Regions from separate parts of the Homo sapiens genome. Here regions 2, 3, 4, 5, 6 and 7 are each linked to region 1. Evidence: promoter capture Hi-C in 16 types of primary human blood cells and fetal thymus (Javierre and others, 2016). All regions are on one chromosome and are shown on one strand. The core of a region is centred on a gene start or on the middle of the fragment in contact, and the rest is flanking DNA. Distances in the headings are between cores, read along the strand shown. Region 1 holds the start of FGF9 (fibroblast growth factor 9). Region 2 has its middle 99 kb from the start of LINC00540. Region 3 has its middle 74 kb from the start of LINC00540. Region 4 overlaps LINC00540 (long intergenic non-protein coding RNA 540). Region 5 overlaps LINC00540 (long intergenic non-protein coding RNA 540). Region 6 overlaps LINC00540 (long intergenic non-protein coding RNA 540). Region 7 has its middle 6.8 kb from the start of SAP18.

What was found. Contacts are between HindIII fragments. The CHiCAGO score rates a contact against its expected background, and 5 or more counts as called.
Region 2: a contact is called between a fragment that was not itself captured here and the fragment with the promoter of FGF9 in region 1, in 1 of 17 cell types (naive CD4 T cells). The highest score is 5.2, in naive CD4 T cells.
Region 3: a contact is called between a fragment that was not itself captured here and the fragment with the promoter of FGF9 in region 1, in 11 of 17 cell types (naive B cells, total CD8 T cells, naive CD4 T cells and 8 more). The highest score is 21.1, in naive B cells.
Region 4: a fragment that was not itself captured here is called in contact with the fragment with the promoter of FGF9 in region 1 in 9 of 17 cell types (naive B cells, naive CD8 T cells, total B cells and 6 more); the score reaches 8.1 in naive B cells.
Region 5: a fragment that was not itself captured here is called in contact with the fragment with the promoter of FGF9 in region 1 in 8 of 17 cell types (naive CD4 T cells, total CD4 T cells, naive CD8 T cells and 5 more); the score reaches 7.7 in naive CD4 T cells.
Region 6: a contact is called between a fragment that was not itself captured here and the fragment with the promoter of FGF9 in region 1, in 7 of 17 cell types (naive B cells, naive CD4 T cells, total CD8 T cells and 4 more). The highest score is 7.6, in naive B cells.
Region 7: a fragment that was not itself captured here is called in contact with the fragment with the promoter of FGF9 in region 1 in 1 of 17 cell types (activated CD4 T cells); the score reaches 5.1 in activated CD4 T cells.

Annotation. Positions count from the first base shown.
Region 1 is chr13:21,669,122-21,672,651 of GRCh38, forward strand. FGF9 (fibroblast growth factor 9) reads left to right here and starts at 1,952. Exons shown (of 3, transcript NM_002010.3): 1 at 1,952-3,068. The coding sequence starts at 2,792. RefSeq lists silencers at 770-1,029, 1,810-1,859, 1,880-1,939. The HindIII fragment of the contact is 3,792 bases long and covers 1-3,413 here.
Region 2 is chr13:22,307,951-22,311,480 of GRCh38, forward strand. No RefSeq gene overlaps it. Among named protein-coding and RNA genes, the nearest start is that of LINC00540, 99 kb to the left of the region's middle. The HindIII fragment of the contact is 491 bases long and covers 1,322-1,812 here.
Region 3 is chr13:22,282,591-22,286,120 of GRCh38, forward strand. No RefSeq gene overlaps it. Among named protein-coding and RNA genes, the nearest start is that of LINC00540, 74 kb to the left of the region's middle. The HindIII fragment of the contact is 1,711 bases long and covers 862-2,572 here.
Region 4 is chr13:22,263,521-22,267,050 of GRCh38, forward strand. All of the region lies in intron 1 of LINC00540 (long intergenic non-protein coding RNA 540), which reads left to right. Among named protein-coding and RNA genes, the nearest start is that of LINC00540, 55 kb to the left of the region's middle. The HindIII fragment of the contact is 1,164 bases long and covers 1,050-2,213 here.
Region 5 is chr13:22,242,926-22,246,455 of GRCh38, forward strand. The region is part of intron 1 of LINC00540 (long intergenic non-protein coding RNA 540); the gene reads left to right. Among named protein-coding and RNA genes, the nearest start is that of LINC00540, 34 kb to the left of the region's middle. The HindIII fragment of the contact is 7,702 bases long and covers 1-3,530 here.
Region 6 is chr13:22,211,464-22,214,993 of GRCh38, forward strand. All of the region lies in intron 1 of LINC00540 (long intergenic non-protein coding RNA 540), which reads left to right. Among named protein-coding and RNA genes, the nearest start is that of LINC00540, 2.9 kb to the left of the region's middle. RefSeq lists a silencer at 707-886. The HindIII fragment of the contact is 209 bases long and covers 1,609-1,817 here.
Region 7 is chr13:21,131,604-21,135,133 of GRCh38, forward strand. No RefSeq gene overlaps it. Among named protein-coding and RNA genes, the nearest start is that of SAP18, 6.8 kb to the right of the region's middle. The HindIII fragment of the contact is 2,647 bases long and covers 677-3,323 here.

The sequences.
Region 1 (3,530 bases), core at 702-3,201:
GGCGCACTGTACCCAACTGGTCGAGGAACGCCCCTGCTGTACCCATCACTGCTGGCTGCCTCGGAGATTAATGCGAGCGACTCGGGTGGTTTATGAGAAGTGACACTTAATACCCAGCTTCTTGTATCTGCCGCCGAGCAGTTAACGTTAAAGCCCGCTCTGTACCACCGCGGATGTGACTGCTGTAAATACCACGGGGCAGGGCTCTCATGCTTCAGAAACACGTAAGCAAGACGCACCGAGCCAGCCCCGGACACCCAATGACCCTGGACTGCGGCAAAGGGGGGGTGGGAAAGGAAGAGGGGAGGACCACTCGCTCTTCTCTCCTTCCTCCTCGCCCGGGCCGGAGCACGCCTTCCTCCCCGGAGGGCAGGGGAAGGTCGCTCCAGGTCGCTGGCACCTCCAGCGCCCCCGAAATCTGCAAATTCATCGCTCCCTTTCGTCTTCAGGCGAAGCCCTCCCGTCCGGAGTAGGGCCAGCCCCAGTTATGCATCTCCAGCCTTTAGCTGACTACTAAGGCGGATCCGACTTCTCCCCCATAACCAGGTTTTGATTCGCTTCCCCACCGCAGGGGTTCAGTCTCTGCTTTCGACTTTGCTTCTCAGTTGCACGCCCCGCAGTGTGGAGCTGCGCTCAAGTCTCGGCAACTTTCACCATCTTGACCCGAGAGTCGGGCCGTTTCTAAGACAATGTGAACAAAGAGGAGCAGGGGGAGGGAAGGGGGGCCCCGCGGGAGGGCTGTGGGCGAGTGTGTGTGTGTGTGTGTGTGTGTGTGTGTGTGTGTGTGTGTTGGGGGGCGCCGCGCTCCGCGCCCGCCGCCACTGGGGATCCGGGCGCAGGCAGGCTGTCCCGGGCGCAGAGCGCGCCGCCTCCAGTCTCTCTGGCGGGCCCGGCCCGGCAGGGCCCCTGGCGGCCCCCGGAGGCGGGTTTCTTTGTCCCTGACTCCCGCTGGGCGCGAAGGCCGCCGGCGGCTAACAGAAACCCGAGCCCGCGCAACGGAGCTCAGGCTTCCACGTGCGGCCCCGCAGGGCAGAGCAGGAAGGAGCGGCTGCAGCCCCGGGGCGCCCCGCAAGCATCCAGTGCCCGGCCCTCCCAGCTCCGCGGCGGGCTTCGGACGGTGGAGTGAGACACCAGAACTCGCCTTTCGCTTCCCCGAGCCGATGCACGGCTTGGGATGGCGCCGCTCGTCCTAAGCAGCGTGGTTTGAGGGCGAGAAGACGCCTACTGGAGCGCTCCCCTCCACCCAGACTCCCGAAGACGCGCGCCCGAGTCGAAGTCGGGGACAGAGAAGGTTCTCTGGCGCCCCCCTGCCGACTGCTTTGCGGCCGCCGGGACCCGAGCAGCGGGGCGGGACCTAAACATAGCCCCAACCCAAAGATGCCCAGCAGAACGCTCCAAACAAAACAGAAACGGTGGCCGCATCTGCGTGTGTGTGTGTGTGTGTGTGTGTGACGGGGGAGAGGAGTTGATCTTACCTGAAACATAGTTTGCGCTTCTGTGTGTGTGGCCGAAGAATGGAAGAGAAACTGCCATGGCCATCCGAGTCCATTAAATCAACTCCCCTTCCCTCCGACTCTCTCAACTCAGTCATATTCTATAATACAACGCAAGGTTACAGAGCCCCAGTGAAAACTAGTTTCCCAGTTTCACTCTGACCCTCCATCAATGTAGCCAGCCAGCTAGATTGTAGGTTACCGGCTTCTATTCTGCAGGAGAACTTTGAGTCTCGGGAGACTCAGGGTTTCTTCCTCCCGCCTCTCGCAGTGCATCTTTCATTTGCTTTTCTTTGTAAAGCCAGGGCTCCTCGACTGCCTCCCAGGAAGTCCTGCGCTCTGGCGCGCCGCACCTCGCCTGCCGCAGAGCGGCGCGGGCAGTAAGCCGGGCGCTAGGACCGCGGGGAGCCCGGGCTGCGGCGGCGCTACCTTAAACCCAGCCCAATGCCGCTGCCTGCGCCACTCTGCGCGCCGGCGGGGGCTGCGCAGGAGGAGCGCTCCGCCCGGCTACAACGCTCCGCGAGCCGGCGCGGCAACACCTGTTCGCGGCAGCCTGGGCGGCACGCGAGCTCCCGGACGCGGCTCTCCTCGCTCGCCGCTCGCCACCCGTTCTAAGCCAATGGACATCTGCCGAGCCTCTGGAGAATCCTGGATACTAGCTTTGGACGCCTAAAGTTTCTTCTTCTTTTTGTTTTATTATTATTATCATTTTTTGGAGGGGGGACCGGGAGGGGAGATTTGTCGCCGCCACCAACGTGAGATTTTTTTTTCCCCTTGAAGGATTCATGCTGATGTCTGCAGAGTCGGTTAGAGAGTAAAAACAGCGCATGCCTTCCTGGAGTCAGGATCCGTAAATTCTGACGTAGCCCGTGCATCTTAAAAATCCCTATAATAACGCCTAGGCATTTAAGTTGCTATGGTCATTCTGATCTCAAACCAAATGGAGAAACTACGGATTTTTTTTCCTTATTACGGTCGGATGGGATGAAGACCTTCCTGCCTGCTAAGAGCTGGGGATCTATCTATAGAGATACATAGATATGTTTATCAATATGTCAGTGTGTGAGTATAAAGTGGTGGTTTCTTAGACTATCAGTGGTTTGACCTTGAACCTGTGCCAGTGAAACAGCAGATTACTTTTATTTATGCATTTAATGGATTGAAGAAAAGAACCTTTTTTTTCTCTCTCTCTCTGCAACTGCAGTAAGGGAGGGGAGTTGGATATACCTCGCCTAATATCTCCTGGGTTGACACCATCATTATTGTTTATTCTTGTGCTCCAAAAGCCGAGTCCTCTGATGGCTCCCTTAGGTGAAGTTGGGAACTATTTCGGTGTGCAGGATGCGGTACCGTTTGGGAATGTGCCCGTGTTGCCGGTGGACAGCCCGGTTTTGTTAAGTGACCACCTGGGTCAGTCCGAAGCAGGGGGGCTCCCCAGGGGACCCGCAGTCACGGACTTGGATCATTTAAAGGGGATTCTCAGGCGGAGGCAGCTATACTGCAGGACTGGATTTCACTTAGAAATCTTCCCCAATGGTACTATCCAGGGAACCAGGAAAGACCACAGCCGATTTGGTAGGTATACCATTAACCCTTTAGTGTCCATGAGATGACATGTTGAAATTATAACTACCAAGAAGGTGGTGGCCGGGTGGGGGACGTGGGAAGGGTTCTCCCCTCCTCCCCTCTTTCTCTGTATCTCTGTCTCTCTCTCTCTCTGTCTTGCCAGCTCCGAAAAAAAAATGCCTCCGGAATTGCAGATCTGCTGCTGGCACTGATGCAAGTATACACTGAAAGGCCCCCTACTTTTAATTTAAAGGGGGGCATAATTTATAAATATAATACAAGTTTCCAGTTCTTTTGCATCAGATACACGGGTTTAGGAAGTTTCTTTTGAATGGACTGATTGCACGAGTTTAAAGCTTTAATCATTAACTACTAAGAACTTAATGCAGTTTCTTGAAGGCAGTGGGTATCTTGTGCCCAAATTAAGGTTTTTTTCCTTTCCCCCTTTCCTCTAGTAAGTATACTACTTGA
Region 2 (3,530 bases), core at 317-2,816, 640 kb after region 1:
GATAATTTTGGCTAGTGTTCTCTTGATGTCATGAAAGAGAGAATTTTCAAAATTATTTTTCTGCCATTTCTGTCAATATCACTTTATAATTTGATTTTTAAATGGCCTTTCACAGGGCCATTACATTTATCTTAAATGTAATATTTATTAGTTTAACATTTCAATTTAGATTTACATTTTTCTAACATACACCGAGTATATTCTCTTATTTTGAAAGATATATAATTAGTGGTCTTATCCCTTGTGATCAATATAATCACACTTAGTAATGTAATCTTGTGGAATTCATTTATATATCAATTGTGGTAAAAACTGTTTTTGGAGAATAATATAAATGGAGTAAGTGAATAATTCATAAATATGACAATGATCTTCATGGTGAAATAAAAGTAAGAAACACCAGAAGTAGATATTTTTTTTCCAAAATGGCATGGTGATAAAAGATAATGAAAATAAAGTTCAAAAGTGTGAAAATAATAAATGAAAACATAACTTTGTCATTTTATTAGTAGACTAAATTTTAAAGGTAGTGTTGTTCTAATGGGATTAAACAATAAATAAATTACTCAAGCAATTTACAGAAGATATGAATAAATAAGTTCAGTTTGAAAGAGTTATAAAAAGAGAGGAGTCATTGAAGAACGAAAGTTAGAATTACACAAGTTTAGAGTTAGAAGGAATTATAGACAACATCTGATTCAACACATTCTTTTTTTTTTTAATGAAATAATGAGATTTAAAGAGGCTAAAACACTTGGCCAGAGTTAAACATTGAGGAATGGACCTAAAATGTTGACTAAAAGATGACTCTGGTTGTGAGCTGGACAATGTCCTGAAAGGCAGCTAAGATTACTTTAGACTCACGACTAGTGTCTTGTCTAGACTTAACCTTGTCTAGACTGAAGTCTAGACCTCCTCCTTCTCTAAAACGCCATGTATAGTTTCTGCAAGTGCCTATCGACATGACAGTTTTGTACATGGATTTGGATTTGTTTAACATAAAATTCTCAGAAAAACCTAGTTAGAAGTCTAGACATTGTATTATCAGCTTTTAGCATTTTCCACTTCTTTTTTAAACAAAAAATCTTCATCCTGTGAGTCAATACATATTTATGGAATACTATAAATTCCAGGCACTTTGCTAGGCAATGGAGATACAAAGATAAAGAAGTAACAGCCCTGTCCTAAAGCATATTCAACTGTAATATGCTTGGAAGAGCAGCTATTGTAAATCAAAGGATCACAGTACCACTTGGTGAGTGCTCTTCCTTTAGTATGAACCAAACACTTCAAGACAAACATCTATACCCCTGACATTTCAAGCTTTGGCTTTTATTTTGATCAGTAGCACAAAATACTTATACTCCAGTCACCTTTCTGCTTCTTATTCTTTGCTAAAAATCCAGCTAAGAAAATGAACATTCAAAGAGAAAATCATGTGACATGTTAACTCGTCATTCTTTTAAATTCCAAAATCTCTATCATTATATCAATTAGAGTATTAGAAAGTCACTTGGAGTTTATTCCCTTAGACTTCCATGGGGAAACCTTTACAGAACTACAATTCAATTCTTGCCTTTTCTTAAAGGTTGATATAAAAAATAATGATGAACAATTTTTTGTTGGTGTTATTGAAAGCACAGGTGATTCTAAGTCTACATAACAAGTTGCTTCTTATTTATTCAAGACATATTTATTGGGCATTTATGTGCCAAGAAAGGAAAAGTTTTTCTTGTCAAGAACTATTAGGCTATCATTTAATAGATGACTCTAATTATATAGGGTATTCCCTCTTTGCTTTTGCTACCAGGAAGCTTAGAATTATTTTTGGGGCTCAGTGGAAGTGGTATTTTTAAACTTAATGTTTCTGGTGAAATTCTCTCAACTCCACTCTTTTCATACCCCACCTCAACCTCCACTCTCTTCCTTGGCTCTATTTTATCCTAATTAATATAATCCTATTTACTTTTACACATTTATATTTAGTGACCTAAACATAGGCAAGGTTATACATAATAAACGGTGGTGCTGCCACGTAGTACATTTATTCTTTATTAACAGGAGTCCAAGATAGTATTAGAAGTCTTAACAATTACGATAAAATACACCAAGGTTTAAATGAAATTAATGTTGTATGTAAACTAGAATCCATGGAATATGCAACCTTTGAAATCCTGAACAATGACGCTATTTTTAAAGGGGTTAGCTGCCTTTCGTTGGTTTTGTTGTATCATGGGACCAGATGAAGAAGCTTTGCTAAAATGCCACCTGTGTTTGGAAATAGCATGACAAAGGCCAATTGCTTGTGCCACCATCTACGGTCCAGTAAAAGAAAGTGAGAGATTAGAAACATCTTTGGTTTTGCCAGTTGGATATGATGATAGAATGGGTTACCTAAGTTTCTGTAGCATGTTAAGTTAAAATAAGACGATGCCAATATTAATGTAAGAGCTTTTAATAAAGGCTATTTATATCCACTTTGCTAGTAAAGAAAGTATGATGACAATTTATTAAAATCTTCATGATTTAGAAACAATAGCAATAGGCATACTGAATTGCAGCACATCAGCAAAGAGGGTGACCATTTTAGGAGAAAGAAGAAATATCCTACCTTATAATCATGTAAACTATGTAGTGTATGTGGATCAGTCACACAGTCATTTCCTTTGGTTATCATAATGTTACGGGGTGGCTAGGGCAAGAATATTATGAAAGATTCTGAGGCTCAGAGAAGTCAATTTCAATTCTAAACTCTCTGATGTAGCAGTTAAAATAAGTTAGTTTTACTTGCATCATCAAGTATGCAATACTAAAATAATAAAATTGCTATGAATGCAAACATACTTCAGGAATAGTGACTATATTTGGAGAGGGTAGGAGGAGAATGAGATGGAGAGTTGTTTTATCTATAATATCTCATTTTTTAAAAAAGTTAAAAAATGTAATAAATATGACAAATGCTGACATTTCTTTAGTCTGGATTATTGTTACATATGTGTCTATTTTCTTGATGTTTGCAATATTTAATTTCAAATCCTTATATTTTTTATTAAGAATCCTCAGCACTTATAATTGTATAATTTATCCACGGTCACGTTGCTGTAAAGGTTTTAATAGTTTGAGTGGTGTCCCCCTCCCCTGAAAAAAAAAAAGTCTACCAAGAGCCTCAGAATATGGCCTTATTTGGAATAGATGCTTTGCAAATTTTATTAAGGTAAATATCCTAAGATGAGATCATTCTGGATTAGGGTGGTCCCTAAAATCAATGGTGAATGTCCTTCTAAGAGACAGAAAAGGAGAAGACACAGAGGAGAAAGCCATGTGACGATGGAGGCAGAGATTGGAGTGATGTGTCTACAAGCCAAGCAAGGCCTGGGGCCACCAGAAGCTGGAAGAGACAAGGCAGGATTCTTCCCTAGCCTGCAGAAGGAGCGTGGCCCTGCTGGCACCTGGATTTAGGACTTGGCCTCCAGAACTGTGAGATAATAAAATTCTGTTGTTTTTAGGCTGCCAAATTAGTTCTAGTTTGT
Region 3 (3,530 bases), core at 467-2,966, 610 kb after region 1:
AATATGATCATAGTCTCTACATTTTAATCCTCAGAGATGCCTTTTAAGTTTTTCTGTTAGAAACTTTTAATTCTATTACGCATATATAGGCATTACTTTGCTCTTTAATATTTTTTCAGGGAAAATGACATAAAAATTTAAAAAACCCAGGCAATAACTTTCTACATTATCAGGTTTTATTACGCTAAATTAAATTTACTAAATGCTATTAATTAAATTTTAGTAAATGCTTTTAGAGTATGTGTTCTTTTAACTGATAAGATGGTACTATTCTCATGATGCATTATGTGGAGTCTATAAAGGAAAGTTAATATCACAATGCCTAGAAAAGTTAAAGTTTCTGCCTCATGGGGAAATATGGCTGGTCTTTATTCCAGACTATTTTCAAATAGCCTGCTCAGCCCTCCAAAGCTATGTTGTCTTCTCTGACCTGTTTCTTAATTTATATGTAACTTTTAAATCTGCAAAAGGATATTTCAATTTATTTTTATTTTATTATTATTTTTTGAGACAGAGCCTCACTGTGTTGCCCAGGCTGGTCTGGGATCCTCCCGCCTCAGCCTCCTAAGTAGCCAGGATTAGAGGCTTGCACCACCCTGCCCAGCAATTTTAGTAGTTTGGACTTCCTGTGTCTTCCTTTCTGCTTCCCTATGTCCATTATTCATCTCTAGTCGCTCATCTTCCATGCACATCCAATTCCTCATGCTCCTTGACTGTCTCACACCTCCATGCAAGCATAGACCCAGGTTGGCAAGGTCCTCTTTAAGAAACAGAGTATAAACTTAGAAATATATCATTAATACCAAAGTAAATATTTGTTTAGAGAGACAGAAACAACATAACAAATTATACATTTTAAAAAGCTTTCAAAGGCTATAAACATAAAATCCAGAAAAGTAAGATTTCTTTATGTCCTAACACAACTTCATAACATTTTTTCTCCTGTTTTTTTAGGGGTTCGGGGGGCTACTTGTATTTTGCCTTGACATGTAACAAAAATTTCGTAAAAGTATGTTCTGTAGGGAAAATAGAAAAAAAATAATTCAGCCTTTTTTCCAGCATTGTTGGTTAAAATAATTTGGAAAAGTTACTTTTAGCTTCACAACGCATCTCTGGTTACACGTAGATTATTAGGATTGTTGTCAAATGCGGATAATCCTCTACTGAGTCTCTTTCATAGATGAGCTGTAAGAGTTCAAGTCATTTCAAGCATTCTCGGTCCATGACTAAACTTACATAGTCTTTGAACTGACAACATCCATTCACTCATGGAAGTGGTGTATTTTGAGTTTTCACTATATTTGTGAAAGTCAGGGAGAAACTCACATCTTTTCCCAATGTGTTCATGCAATTTACTCTCTTTAGTCATTGGTACAGTCCAAAAAGTTATTTATTATTTCTTTTTGCAGTTTGTTTCTTCCTCTAAATGAGTTACAACTTTTGTATGATCTGAATTTTTAGTATTGCCACTGCTACAATTTGCTTCTTGATGTCAGAATAATATGTGTTGATTTCATTGCCACTTTTGTTTGTATTTCATTAATTGAAATTTCTCTTCATCCTTTAACTATAAATTTTAAGATGACAAAAAGAGGTAACAGAATGATCTTTAAAAAAGATCACCCACGTTCCCCACCGCTCCCCGGCCCTGGCTCAAGATTCTTTAATGGCTTCCTGTTTTAATCCATATTGAATTGGAACCACATGGCCCTGTACTACCTGGCCTATGTTGACTCTCAGCCCTTACCTCCCACCATAACTTCCTTTTGTTCCTCAGGCTTCACCCCCTCTGAACTTCCTTTCTGTTCGGGGATACACTGAGCTTGCTCTACCTCAAGGCCCTTACACCTGCTGCTCCCTATTCCTGGGATACTTTTTGTTCAGATGTTTGCACTGAGGACTCTGTCTCATCATTTTTTTTTCTTTACTTGTTTAGAGACAGGGTCTCACTCCACGTAATGTTATCAGCCTGTCAACCAGGCTGAAGTGCAGTGATGTGATCATGGTTTCCCACAACATTGAACTCCTAGGCTCAAGCAGTCTTCCTGTCTCAGCCTCCCAAGTAACTGGGACTACAGGTGTATGCCACCATGCCCAGATAATTAAAAAAAATTGTATAGAGATGGAATTTAGCTATATGCCACACAAGTTGGTCTGGCACTCCTGGCCTCAAGTGATCCTTCCACCTCAGCCTCTCAGAGTGTTGGGATTACAGGTGTGAGGTGCTGAGACCAGCTTCTTCTCACCTTTATGTACCTGTTGCATGAAACTTCCCTAATCACTCTTCCACCCCTTCCAATCGTGATTTCACTAATTATTTTATCATAAACTCTTAGCAGCACTGATGAAAGGATTTTTAAACTCCTCTTTGTATTTGATCATTTGATTATGTGTTTGTTGGGCTGTTTATTGTCTGTTTGTCCTGACTGGACAGCCATTTTTTTGATGACAGGGATCCCATTCACTCACTGTTTCTCCTCAGGGCCATGAGCAGTGCCCAGGGCAGGACATGCAGCCCGTGAGAAGTGTTGGCACGGTGTGTATGTTATGAAAGGGTTCTTTGGCCCAAGAAAGCTTAGGCAATGCTTCACACAGCCCCCTTTTGTAGACTTACATTTCATCTGAGTATTTTGAAGCTTCTGAGACTTTTCTGCGATAAATCTATTTCATTTTGTTTACGCCAGAGTTTGACAAATGTATTTAACCACAGAAGCTTCTTGTTTTATTACCCTATTACCAACTACCATTTTGGAAATAGTCACACAAAGCCTTAAAATAATTTCTAACACCAGAGGAACTCTACACAATTCCATAAAACTACTTAGGTAAGGATTTAGGGTAAACAGACATTGAAAAATAATGCCTTCATAGCTCTAGTCTGGTCATCCATTCATTCACTCATTGAATAAGCATGTCTTGGACATCTGCCCTGTACCAGACATGACATCATGTCTCAGAGATATAGTGATTGGTACAATCCCTGTATCTCTGAGCCTCAGCATCTATGATATGGTGTGAGAAACACCACACTCTATGGGAGAGCATGTTGGAGCAGCACTGAGCCCAGTCTCGGGCTCTGGGAAGGCTTCCTGGTGAGGTGTCCTCTAAGCCAAGACCTGAAGGATTCATAGACATTTGCCAAATGAAGAGCCAAGGAAGACCACCACAGACATGGAGAGCAGCCTGCGTCCCAAGCTGGCAGCGTGAAGCAGCATGGGCATTGGAGGGACTGGGGGAGCCCGGTGTGGTGGGGCAGACTGCGAGAAACAGGTGCTGAGCTACGAGGACAGAGCAGTAAGCAGTGGCCAGGTCACACAGAAGCGACCTGAAACTGCTAACTTATTTATCTGTCCTACTAACCTGAATGTAGATTCATTTAAGTGGCTTTGTATTGTTGACTGTATTTCTCTGGCTTACTTTGTCACCTGGTGCCGAGTGAACATTTGGTAAAGTTTTATGAAATAGAGGAAGTAAAACAAGTTGAAGACTGGAGGAGTCTTTCAGTAACATTGCCAGTGGGGGGAAAAGCT
Region 4 (3,530 bases), core at 382-2,881, 590 kb after region 1:
AATATATGGATTCCTATCCTTTATTTTAGCAGGTTGGAGGAATCTGAAAAAAGATGTTTCGTGAACAATCCAAATGGATTCTTTACCATAAAACTCTGACTTTTATTGCTGTTATAACTTTGGACTTTCTCAGTAAAATTAAACAATCCTTTGGGTGCAGCAGTTTATTCCTTTAAAAATCAAGCTGTGGGCCAGATGCGGTGGCTCATGCCTATAATCCCAGCACTCTGGGAGGCTGAGGCGGGCAGATCACAAGGTCAGGAGATCGAGACCATCCTGGCTAACATGGTGAAACCCCATCTCTACTAAAAAAATACAAAAAAAATTAGCTGGGCGTGGTGGTGGGCGCCTGTAGTCCCAGCTACTTGGGAGGCTGAGACAGGAGAATGGCGTGAACCTGGGAGGCAGAGCTTGCAGTGAGCCGAGATGGCGCCACCACACTCCAGCCGGAGCAAGAGTGCAAGACTCCATCTCCAAAAAAAAAAAAAAAAAAAAAAAATCAACCTCTGGTGTTGTGGGTGGGGATGGCGGAAGGAGTGATGCATGATACGTTCATGGCTATTTCGTCATGCTCCCCTGCTTTCATCAGAGATATCAACAGATGAGCAGCTGTTGACCCAGAAAGGTGGATCAATGCTTATGGCCATACCCTGTATTAGTTTCCTTATCTTTGCAAGTTGGGTCCTACGGGGTTTCAAATCCAGCTGCCTTTAATAGACAGAACGCTTAGGGCCACACACGTGAAGGACTTACTAGGTATTGCTTAACTCTGTTTTTGTTCATAAACAGGCATCAAGGATGGAGATGCGCTAAGACTGATGATGTACACAGTACAAATAGTGCAAATAAGGATGAGAATACAAGCCCTGGTGATTAAAAAAGGTCAATAATGTTTTTCAAGGAGCACTTAGCTTTTTAAATGATTGTTTAAAAAATGTTGCTTCCATGTATTAAGTCTGAATTGTCCTTAGATGAATGACAGGAAATTATGTCTGTCTTTTCTTTTAATATGTGTATGTTCATCCAAACACAATGAAGTAAAACACCGAAGCTTTATCTGTGTGATTCAAGTCCCCTAACCTATCTTTATCTGAATATTAAAAGAGAAAAATCTTGGTAGATATAAATAAGAACTAAATTGTCTACAAAATTGATTTAATTCTCATTTTATTTTTTTTAAATTTTTACATGACCTACAGGACATCACTTGTAACACAATAAAGAAAAAGATATTATTCTTTAATACAGATTACAAAGTTGACAGTGAAAATTGCATCATGATTGGTTGAAAGAGATATTGATAGGATTTAATAGTCCTCTACTTTAATTGCTACTGTTTCCAATTAGACAGAGTTGGTGTTGCTCAGCCTGAAAATTCTGGACTCTGACTTCTTGAGCCTCTACAACTCTAAAATGTTCGTGTTCACTGCTGTGCTAACTTTACATTTAAGCATTAGTAATGATATTTTTAGATAATTTTAATGTTTTTTATAGTAGTTATGAATACACTAACCTTTTTCATCCCATGCTTACTGTAAAAATAAGATTAGCCAATGATTATCTCTTTTATATATATATATATATATATATTTGACAATCCCGTGGTTATGGTAAATTTCACACATACTGACATTACTTTGAGAAAACTGATTTGTATCCCTACTCCCATCCCAGGAGAATGTTCTTATTATCTCAGTAACGTCCAGCAGATGATATCAAGATACGGGTCAGCTGGTGAGCACATGTGGGATTATAAGAAAATCGGCCTGAAACAGCTCAAATTCACCAATAAGCCATCCCATGCATGGCATTTTATTTATTGAGAATCTTAATAAACATTTCCATCATAATTCTCTTCCAAGTAGCCTTGGCACAACTTGGATTTCTTCCTTCTTATGGTCTTTATAACTGTGCTTGCACAAACTCTGTTATAGCAGTAGATGACTGAGGGAAGTTAGCTGGTTTGGTAGCTCTAAATACCATCCCCAGGACCTGGATTAATAACCAGCAGAACATTTATTGTTGAATAATGAATTCACTCCTTGTATAATGCTTTAATGTAAGAAATTTCTCCCTTGATTGGTTTGAGCCCTTTCTTAAACTCACACGTCATTAGCGAGCTAGGAAGTGTATTGTTGGACTACTGGTAATTCTTAGCAGTGTACGAAGACCACTATGTTCCGTATATTAGTATCTAACATTTATTGAGCACAAGCTTTATGTGCCAAGTGCATTGGCAGGTGCTCTCTATTTAAAGTGGAAAGTACAACGAGTACTTGTTCCTTCCCCTGAGTGTAAAAGGAGTAGGTGGAACTCTTAGTATGGAAACTAGCAAATTTGAGTGTATCTGACATGGGGTGGGGGTGGGGGGGTGGTGCAGATCTTGGCTAATAGCAGGAAAAAAGTAGGTAAGTCATATATGCATACCTAAGACCAAGACTCATTCAGGGCATAAGAAATTGTGTGAAATTATTTGAAGTTATTGAGATAAGATTTTGTTTTTAACAAAGGCAGAACTTTTCTACATGCCGGCTTTGCAAACTATATCTTACGTATTTTCAGTCCATGTGCCAAAACTGTACTAGTCTCTTCTCCATCAGAGACTAACAAAAAACATCATGAAGATCCACCTGCTGTTGTAGTGGCCTGAATGATGCAGGAGAAAGGGGGTTTCCGAGGGGGAGTATTACCAATCACAAAACCTGAACACATGTTATTGATTCTAGAGCCAAGATGTTGACACTGTCTGCACCCAGATCAAAATTAGATAAAATAACATTAGATTTCTATAATTACAGAAAGTAGCATATAACTTGAGACAAAGTTTCTAAAATACTGCATTACAGAACACTTAGTAATTAAATCTTCCATTGCTCCCTAGTTTAAACACAATGACTATTCATTACTGTGCTGTCCTCCCCAAAACTCCACTGGAGCCTTCTATGTAGCTCCTAGTCTTTCAGTCTCCCTAGAAAACCTTTTCTATTTTACATGAAAATTTTAGAGGTGTAGAGGCTACAGGAGTCAGAGTACAGACTTTTCAGGTTGAGTAACACCAACTCTGCCATATTGGTAACAGTATATAAAGTTATATACATAAAATATGAACAGAGATAAAGTTATATACATAAACTATGAAACAATTCCTTGCCTTCCTTATTATTTGCCTGTCTGCTCAGCAAACCTCTGCTCTTTAGTCTCTGTTTCTGCCCAAGACCAGTCTCCCCTCAGGCCCTTGATCTCAGCTTCTTATGTTCCAACAGTGTATCTTAGATTTATTCCTTCTTTACTAAGTTCTTTTCCTCAACCTATACACATGCTCAAATAGCCTATCCTTACAGAAACTCTCTTGTGACCCTGAAATTCTCTCCTAATTACTATCCATTCTCTTTTCTTTCTCATCCAATGTCATTCATTAATGCAATAAAAGTTTGTTGAGCAGCTATTATGTGCCAGGTACAATGCTAAACTTCTTTAATTCTATAATCAGAACAACAGTTATTATTCTTCAGTCTCAAAAAGCATGTATG
Region 5 (3,530 bases), core at 681-3,180, 570 kb after region 1:
CAAAAGCAATAGAGTTCATGGGCGAGCCAAGTCATCTCCAGCCTCCTTCCAGAGCCTGCAGTCAGATGGTAGACCAGATAGCCCTGCATGCCAGGTCCCACCTGATGCTACCTTGTAGTTGTGTCAAAAAATGGATGCCCTAATTTAATCAGCCATTAGTACTTGTGTACTTAATGGAAAAAAACAGCAGTGACATTAAACATCATTAAAACATCTCAGCCTGATTTTTAAAAAATTACTAGATAGAAATTCAACTGACTGAATCATCAACACTATTCAGTTACAATGAAGTTACTTTAGGCATGGGGTTGTTATAAAAAGTTACTGGTTTTCCAAATTATTGAGGGTCCGCAGTTTTAGGGTTTTAAATAAATAAGGGCTCACTGAAAAGAAACCTCCCTGTAGGTCAGTGTAGATTTTAATTAGCTGGTAGAGTCCAGCGTTAAACACCTTGAGAAACTGTCGTGGTGTAGCTTCCTTTCTCTATTGCTTTTGTTCCTTTGAACTGCAATGCAAACCCATGCACACAGAAAGTCAAGAAAAATAAGAGCAGTTTCTTGTTTCGGGAGTCATAAGTCATCTCAGGTAATGGTGAGGTAGGAAAACAGTTTTGGTCTCAGCCCACTGATAATGGATGGAAGTTACACCGGGTGTGATGGTTGCTCTATGTTTTAGCTGTTGACAATTGAAAGGGAACACATCAACATTTACTTATCTGACTTAATGAATGTTATCATGTGGAAAAGGTAAATCAATAACAGCCGAGATCAAACATACCAATCTCCTTTTGAACACACAATGCCCTCATTTATATAAATCTCAGCTGCTTGACGGGTGCCCATTTGAACACCCCTGGGCCAGCCTGGCTAAGAGGCCTTCCATCTTAGGGCGCTGGTGTCAGAATTTCAGGAACTTTTAAGCGTGGAAACTGATTTAAGAGCCGGCAAAGCTATAATTCCAGTGGTTTCCTAATTAACATGTGAGTGGAGAACTAGAGTGGCCATGGGTTATCTGAAGTGTTTAGTTCCTGCCTTCCTGCCCCGCCTCCCCAGAGCCCCAGACTCATTGAACAGAAAGGTTAGAAGTGGCCTACTGGTGACCCCAGGCAGGAACAGATTGTGATCTGCTTAATTAGGCTGCTGTCTTCATCTTACACCTCCAGTTTTAACACAGCTTTCCCCTGAGGGGATGTGGCTGCCGAGGTTGTGAACAGGTTTAAAGAGGGGATCTGAGAATGGCTGGGTGGGCTTCCAACTCTCAGAGTCCCCAGTAGTTGGTCCCCTCTGAACTCAGCGCTGCTCCATTTACCCTTCCTCCCGTCTTTTTCGCCCATTTCCTCTCCCTTGTCAGCCCTTCGTAGGGTGGAAGGGATTCAGCTGGGGGACCGCGGGCCTAGCCAGACCCAGCTGTGAGAAGCCACACAGGGGAGGCCATCTCACCATTTTCATTCTTGTCTCCGGCTTCTTGTTTCTGTTCCACTTCATCCCTCACCCGCAAATCCCACCCTCCAACCTGAATTTCCAAGCCTTGTGATTCTCACAGAAGCTCCTTTCTGGGTTGAGGTGGTTTTGAGCAGTAGAATACTCCGCTTTTCATTTTACTTGTGTTGAACAAAGTTTATGGGACTGAGCTGCTGGACTGGGATCCAGCAGATCAAACCAAATCAGAACGGAGTTGCTGGTGCTAAGTGGCACTCATCAAAGGGAACTTTGAAATGGGCCAGTTTTCCCCCAAACCAGAAGATTCCAGTCAACCTTTAGCCCTAAGGAGGTTAACTTTGAAATAAATGACCAGTTGCTTTTTGTTCTCTATGTCTGCTCTCCTCAGCTCTTTTCTGCTTATGAAGCTGAACTCCTCTGCTTCGTTCATTGGAACACCCATTCTGTTTTATAGAATGAGGTGTTGCTGGATTCCACAGTCACAAATCAAAGCCAATGAGCTCATTAAACTAAATCTGTTGTCATTTTGTCTTTTGACACTTACCTTCGTGTTGCTCTTCACTCTAAGGCCTTAAAATATATCCCAATACCCTTTTCACTGCTTTTCTTAAAGGTGTGTGTGTGTGTTATTGCTTTTGGTTTGATACATCTATCAGTTCAGTTTCCTTATATTAATACTTACATGGTTCTCGATTACCTCCAATTGCAACTGTAAGTGAGGGTTTTAAAATATTTTAAAACAAACAGAAAAAATCGAGTGCCTTAGAGTCTGAGGAAATCAGAAAGGCTATCTGTAGACCTTCCTGCCAGTTCACAGTCAAAGCCAGGCCCGTGGCTGCAGTTCTCTGGTGTCCTTGGAGGAGTGGGAGCACGGGGTGTGGTCAGTGGTTGCCTCTGTATTTCAGGCCTCAGGGGACTTGAGCCCATCTCCCAGCCCTTGTCAAAGGCTTTTCAGGCTTAAGAGCAGATTCTCAAAGTTTAGTATTCTTACATTAAAATATGAATGTAGGGACCAAATTCCATAGACATCAATTCAAGACATACGGAGTGAGGCCCCAAAATCTCTTAGAAGCCAGCACTAAATTCCGAGACCACATTGCTTTGGGAAACTAAAAGAGAAAATTGCTTCACCCTGTAAAAGTTTGGACACACTTAAGATGAGAATTCATTTATGATTTTTGTTACTCGGTATTTCGAATTCAGCCTTTTGAAATATAAACATAGCCTCAGGGAACAGTGTACACATATACTATCTGTCTGTCTGTCTGTCTGTCTGTCTGTCTGTCTATCATCTATCATGAACCTCTATCTATGTATCTATCTATCTATCTATCATCTATCTATCTATCTAGGTATCTGTGTATCCGTGTATGTACGTATCTACATAGGTATCTGTGAATGTATGTATCTACATATGTATCTACGTATGTATGTATGTATGTATCTATCTATCTCCCTCTTTACAAATAGCTGTTGATCAAATAATAACAGCATTGTTAAAAAGTCAGCCTCAGGGCCTCAGGATGCCCTCTTAGAATCTGTAAGTGTATGAAGCAGATCTGTAGGCTCTGTTGCTGCTAGTACATTATATTTCGCAGTGTAGTAGTAACTTTGGCAAGACCTATTTATTGGATGAGAGGGAACAATGATTGATGTGGGGACAGCATGTGAGTGAGGCATTCTCACTTTGTCACTGGACTCTTTTAGTGGTCCCTATCATTGTGAGAGATGCAGGATCCCTGCCCCAGTTCGGGCAGAGCAGCCTTCCCTCTCCTCCCACCAGCTCCCTGCTGCTACCCGGCTCTGCACACCCTGGCAGAGCACAGGCAGTGTTGACTGGAGTCTCTGCCATCCCTACCTGTCAATTCTCCAGCAGAGTCCTTAAAGGTAGGTTATATCCCCAGCTCCTAGTGGGGGGCCTAGCAATTAGTACATGTTCAATGAGAATTTGTGAAAGAATGTGTTTATTGAAGGGAGTCTAAATGTACCAGAATTTATATGAGGGAGTCGAAATGTACCAGAATATACCCCTTCTCTGCTTATAGACCTCAACTCCTAGGTGTCTGAGTCAGCTCAGGCTGCCATCAGAAA
Region 6 (3,530 bases), core at 463-2,962, 540 kb after region 1:
CCCTTCCACGATGCTGTCCACCCGTGCCTGAACAGTCCCAGTTAGAGGGAGGTCACCACCTTCCAGGCCACAGAGTCCCTTCATGGGCAGCTTTATTGTTAGAAACAAAAAGAATGAAAAACAGTGGGGTTAGGTAAAGATGAGAAGGATGGAGAAGGAATAGAAAACATTGCTAATACGTTGAATTTGATAGATGTTTGGCTGGGTTTCCCATTTGAGCCACACAGAACCAGGCGATCTTTCACAGACTTGGCACCCTCTCCTCTTTGAGAGCCGAATCATGCTTCCTCTTCATTTCCACATTGTCAACACCCCAAGTTCCTTCAATCCCTCATTAAACAGGCTTGCTTTTAGCTCCTCACCACTCAAGTTACCTCCTTCTAAACTAATCATAGTCAAATTGTCCTCGAAAAGTGTATTTCCTGGAGCCCAGCATGGCGCCCTGCAGTGGGCATGGGCACGGGCGGTGCACTGCATGGGACTTTTCCTTCTCTCCATCCGGGTGCCATACACGAGGGTTTTCAGCTTAGGGCAGCATTCGCGTTTTCAGTGGTTACATCGCACCGTCAGCTTACATTAACTTTGTGGTCATCTCTGCTCCAATATCTCAGACTCATCGAGTGAGTCAGAAGCAGGGTCAGGGGAGACGTTTCCATTGTGTCTGTGTGGAGGTGTCAGGGGACATTAAGGCAGTCACCATGTGGGACCCTAGGAGAGGAGCCAGCAGGGAGGAGCGGCTCTCTGACAGCAGGGCCTGCAGGATGATGGAGCCGCACCTGCTGTGAGAGTCGTTTCAGAGCCAGTGCCCCTTTAGGTGAGTGCACACTGTAGGGATGACAGAGTTGTGCAAAAACTAAAAGCTTCGGCTGGGTGCAGTGCCTCATGCCTATAATCCCAGCACTTTGGGAGACCGAGGCAGGTGGATCACCTGAGGTCAGGAGTTTGAGACCAGCCTGGGCGACATGGCAAAACCCTGTCTCTACTAAAAATACAAAAATTAGTTAGGCATGCTGGCGCACGCCTGTAGTCCCAGCTACTCAGGCTGAGGCGGGAGAATCACTTGAACCCAGGAGGCGGAGGCTGCAGTGACACGAGATCACACCACTTCACTCCAGCCTGGGCGATAGAGCAAGACTCTGTCTCACAAAAAACAACAAAACTCTAAAAGCTATGCCATGAGGGGCTGAAGTATCCTCGTTGTGGAAAGGCAGGTTACGCAGAGCACAGCGACCGGGAGCCCCAGGCAGTGGTGTGCCAGGCAAGCCAAGTGGAGGGGAGGACAGAGGCAGGTGTCAGGGAGTGGGTAGCGTTGGGGACATGGCCGCTGTCTAAAGAGGCACAGTGGACTTGGAGAGAATTCTGGAGCAGTGAAGAGCCACAGAGCAGGCGACAGCCTTGAGTTTAGTGCAGGGACTGAGTGGCCACTCAGTCACATGTAAGTGGGCAGCAGCAGCTGTGTTGTGATTCGAGGGCCACAGTCCGTGTGGCCTGGGATGAGGGCAGTCCTTCCTTGCCTGGCTATTTTCTTAGAGATGATAGTCTAAAAGGAGAGCAGTTCATGCCTCGAACAAAGCCCCACCCAAGTGCAGGATATCAAGGCAGATGAGAAGCTTCTCTGTGACTTCCGGGAGGATGCTGGAGGAATGAGAGGACCTCAGAATGGGGCCAAATGAGGTCCTGCCAAGGGCAGATAAGAGCCATTTGGGCTGTTGATGGGACCTTAGTGGTATCCACAAATAATCTGGCCTGGGGGTTACAAGGCTTTTCTTATCCACAGAAATGTTTTAAACTAACCATGTGAACATTGTTTTAATAGAAGCTTTATGGTGAGAAATCACAGAGTAAAATCGCCATTTAATTCTGTGATTTCCTGAACCGAGCTGGGTCCAGGGCAGACCCGCGTGTTTGGATTGTGTGGACTAGGCCACATCTGGGGCTATTAGCAGTTCTCTTCAGTTCTTCCTCTCAGCGTGTGTGGCTCTCCTGCATGGGATCCCCAGCCTAGACAATGGAAGACTTCCCCACACACTCTGGAAGACTTGGGGATAAAAACTGTTTGGTGCCCAGGTCAGACCACAGAGATGTTTAAAGCTTGATTTTAACTTTAAGGTTTGAAAATCAGACCATTTTAATGTTTCATTTTAGACTTACTCGTGCTGTTTCCCTATTGCCAAATTTCACTTTCATAAGGATTTTACTGTAGAGGGATTCTCAGGTGAGATTCTCTGGTTCACGCTTTGACATTCTAATCCATAAAATTCAGCAACAGATAGGATCACTACAAAAAACCCACTTAATATTGCTATGATGACTTACACGCCCCTTTGTAAACTCACTTGAATCATCAACATGTGTCTTTCTTCATAAGAACGTACACTGAAAAAAGGATTTTGCATGTATCTTGGGTTGGAGATCCGTTCTAAGACGTGTGATACATTTCGATTTAGAATTTTTCCAGAAAAGATTTTTCATTTACAGTCAATTGACTTGCGTTTTCTTTTTCTCCCCTCTTCTATTGCGCTGAACTTAAAACCCATTTTAGCTGTTATTTTTGTATTTATTGGATTGCAACCCTCTTAATGAGATTTAAATGAAAAGTCCTGAAGTGCCCAATCTAGACTTCATATTGCGCCCACATGGTTTGCTAAAGCAGGTACCATACCAGTGGGGATCCCTAGTTGTCACAGCTGTAGGAGCCTCCTAATTGCTTGTGACATGGTGCTGCCTTTTGATCTTGACCATGTTCTCCTAATTATTTAATCTTTGACAACATGAAAACATGTTTAACCACATACCATGAATTAAGATCCAGCACGACTTTTCTCCTGAGGCCTAGTTCTGCGTGCATATTCTTTATGTGCATAGCAGCTAAGGAAAAAAAAAAGTTTATTTCCTGTCATCTGTTGAAGGGGAACTAGGGGATGGGGGTGGTGTGTGCGTATGAACATCCCTCCAGCCTCTCCCTCTCTAGACTTCTGCTGATACATTTCTTGTTTGTTCTGAATTACCCCTGAGTTGTTGAATTCTCAAATGCACTGTTTTTAGGCTGGTATTGTCTGACAGTTTTTTTCTAGCCTGGGGAAGGCAGGGAGTAGGAACTCATTGTTAGACAAAGAAGCAGGGAATTGATTCTGGTGTGTTACACTTGTGCTCTTCTATTTAGGAATATTTATGTTTTATTTTATTTAGTTCATGTGTCTGTTTTCTTCAATGGATTCTAAGCTGCTTGTTGGTAGGGGCCTTACTATGTCATCTATGAATCACCTGTGCATAAAAAATAATTGCTGTGTGTGGCTGGGCGCGGTGGCTCACCCCTGTAATCCCAGCACTTTGGGAGGCTGTGGCGGGCTGATCACGAGGTCAGAAGATCAAGATTATCCTGGCTAACATGGTGAAACCCCGTCTCTACTAAAAAAAAATACAAAAAATTAGCCAGGCGTGGTGGCGGGTGCCTGTAGTCCTAGCTACTCAGGAGGCTGAGGCAGGAGAATGGCGTGAACCCGGGAGGGGAAGCTTGCAGTGAGCCGAGA
Region 7 (3,530 bases), core at 750-3,249, 540 kb before region 1:
AAAAAAGAGTTCTTAAGATAGCAAAAAGTAACCACCTGGGCTTGGTGGCTTATGCTTGTAATCCTAGCACTGTGAGAGGCAGAGGTAGGAGAATCACTTGAGGCCAAGAGCTCAAGACCATTCTGGGCAACCTAGCAAGACTCAATCTCTACAAAGTATTAAAAAATGAGCTGGATGTGGTGGCTCATGCCTGTAGTACAAGCTGCTCATGAAGCTGAGGAGGGAGGATCCCTTGAGCCCAGGAGCTGGAGGCTGCAATGAGCTGTGATCATGCCACTGCCCTCCAGCCTGGGAGACAAAGTGAGACACTTTCTTTCTTAAAATAAATAAATAAATAAGAAGGCCAGGTGACATGGCTCATGCCTGTAATCCCAGCACATTGGGGGTGAAGGTGGCAGGATCACCTGAGGTCAGGAGTTTGAGACCAGCCTAGCCAACATGGTGAAACTCCGTCTCTACTAAAAATTATAAAAATTAGCCAGGTGTGGTGGCATGCGCCTGTAATGCCAGCTACTTGGGAGGCTGAGGCAGGAGAATCACTTGAAGTGTGGAGGTGAAGGTTGCAGTGAGCCCAGGTGGCCACTGCACTCCAGCCTGGGCAAGAGAGTGAGACTCTGTCTCAAAAACCGAAAGAGAGAAGAAATGTACAGTCTAAGTAGTAATTGTACTATCTGTAAGCTTAATTCTTCTAGGATTGTTATGGAAATTTATATATTTTTTCGACTCCTTTTTTGAGACAGGGTCTCACTCTGTTGTCTAAGCAAAAGAGTTGTACAGTTATACACAATCACGGCTCACTGCAGCCTTGACCTCCTGGGCTCATACAAACCTCCCACCTCCAGCTTCCTGAGTACCTGGGACTACAGGCACGTCCCACCCCAGCTAATTTTTTTTTTTTTTTAAGAGACAGGGGTCTTGATAATGTTGCTCAGGCTGGTCTTGAACTCCTGGACTCAAGTGATATTCCTGCCTCAGCCTCCCAAAGTGCTGGGATTACAGGTGTGAGCCTTTGCGCCCAGCCTTTACTCTTGGTAACAAGTAGATGCTTTACTGAGACTGTTCACATACAACCCTTTGGGAAACAGAGCCCAGTAAATATTGTGCTTATAAATGCTGTACCCCTTGTCGCCTACAGATACACCTGAAGGAAAGAGTGTCATGAGAGGAATTTGAAAAGCATTAATAATCCCCTAGAGATTCAAATTTATAATCCACAACTTTTATAAACAACCAGATAGTTCTATGGATAATACATTTCATTAAATCTTCTCCAGAAACAAATTTTGTATAGTGTTCACTTATTTCCCTGCCATTAAAAGGTCATTCTTCTTCATATTAACAGCAGAGAATGCCATGGAGTTGCAGTGATTGACTGAGGCATATTCTTTAGAACTCCTCATTACATATTTCTGATTTTAATTCGGAGAATCTGCCTTTTCCTAGATTCATAATGCTAGGACACACAAAAGAGAGAGAGTAGAAAAAGAAGAGTGGAGAGAGTCTGATGACTTATTTTTCACATACTTCAGATGTTCACTTTTTTTAATTTTTAAAATTGTGATAAAATGTATGTAACATAAATGTTATCATTTTAACAATTTTTTGGTGTACAATTCAGTGACTTGAAGTATGTTCACTATGTTGTGCAACCATTCCCACCATCCATATCCAGAATTTTTTCATCATCTCAAAAAGAAACTCTGTACCCATTAAGCAATAACTTCCCAGTCCCCACGTACCCACCAGCCGCTGGCAGCCTCTCTTTTACTTTCTGCCTATGAATTTGCCTGTTCATTCTATGTGCCTCTTATAAATGAAATCACACAATGTTTGTTCTTTTGTGTCTGGCGTATTTCACTTAGCATAATGTTTTCTAGGTTCACCCACGTTGTAACGTGTCAGAATTTTATTCCTTTTGAAAGCTGAATATTCCATTCTATGTGTATCTTTCCATCTGTTGATGGACATTCAGATTGTTTCTACCTTTTGGCTACTGTGAATAATACTGCTATGAACACTAGTGCACAAATACCTGAGTCCCTGCTTTCAATTCCCTTGGGTATATTACTTAGAAGTGTAATACTTGTCCACGTAAATTCTAAAAAGAAAGGAAAGATGCATACCCTTAAATATTACAATTTCAGGAGCAACTCAGAGCTGGTTTTACAAGTCCATGTAGGTAGAATGAGGGCTGCTGAAAAAGTATTCCAAGTATTCTAAAATATAGATGCACTTCTACTGCCTCAAGATGTCGGAAAGTTTCATTTTGATGAGAGCTGGTTATTTGGAAAGGTCCCAAAATGAGAGCTTATATCTAAGAAATGAACCCTCCCCAGTATCACCAATAAAAGGTTGTGAAGTTCTTCATTTTCATAGTTTCAATGTTTTCCCTTTAATGGATTGATTAGAGTGCCCTCATGTGTCTGTATTATTATATTATGGAGGTTTTGAAAAAGATATAATACTAGAATCATCCTAGAATTCTTCTTTATTCAGAAAAATAAAATTTTAAAAAAAAAGATATACTAGAATCATAGAACTGGGGAGAAAATTTAAATATCTTTTTGAAAAAACAAACATTGCCTGCATGCAACTCTGCATGCATGCCTATTCTAGGCACAATGAAAAAATAAATTTTTTATGGCTGGGTGTGGTTAGTCACACTTGTAACCTCAGCACTTTGGGAGGCCAAGGCGGTGAATTGCTTGAGGCCAGGAATTTTTTTTTTTTTTTTTTAGACGGAGTCTCACCTAAGCCTCCCGAGTAGCCGGGACTATAAGTGCCCACTACCACGCCCGGCTAATTTTTTGTATTTTTAGTAGAGACAGGGTTTCACTGTGTTAGCCAAGATTGTCTCCATCTCCTGAACTCATGATCTGCCCGCCTCAGCCTCCCAAAATGCTGGGATTATAGGCATGAGCCACCACACCCTGCCGAGCCCAGGAGTTTGAGACAAGTTAGGCAACATGGCAAAACCCCGTTTCTAGAAAACATTAGCCAGGCATGGTGGTGTGGCCTGTGGTCCCAGCCACATGGGAGGCTGAGGTGGGAGGATTGCTTGAGTCCAGGAGGCGGAGGCTGCAGTGAGCTGAGATTGAGATTATGCCAATGCATTCCAGCCTGGGCAGCGGAGCCAGACCCTGTCTCAAAAGTAAGTAAGTAAATAACTATTTTAAAAGAGTAATCTAAATCACACATACAAAAGAGTTTCTAAGATGTACAGCTACAATGTAAAGAATAAAAAACACACTCCTCCTAGTGAGAAAGAGTATATTACCAGTATCTTAGAAGCTGTGGATGCCCTTCATAAATTGCATCACCCAAGCTTACCCTCAGAGGTAACACTAAACTGAATTTAGTGTTTATTTCCCCCTGCTTCTCTTTATAGTTTTACTACTCATGTTTGTTTCCCTAAACAGTATTTTTAGGTGAGGGGTTCCTATTTTCCCCCCAAATTGAATAAACTGCATAAATTGAACCCTATCGTATGTGTTCTGTGACTTGCTTCTTCTACTTTTTTAAAAAAGAAG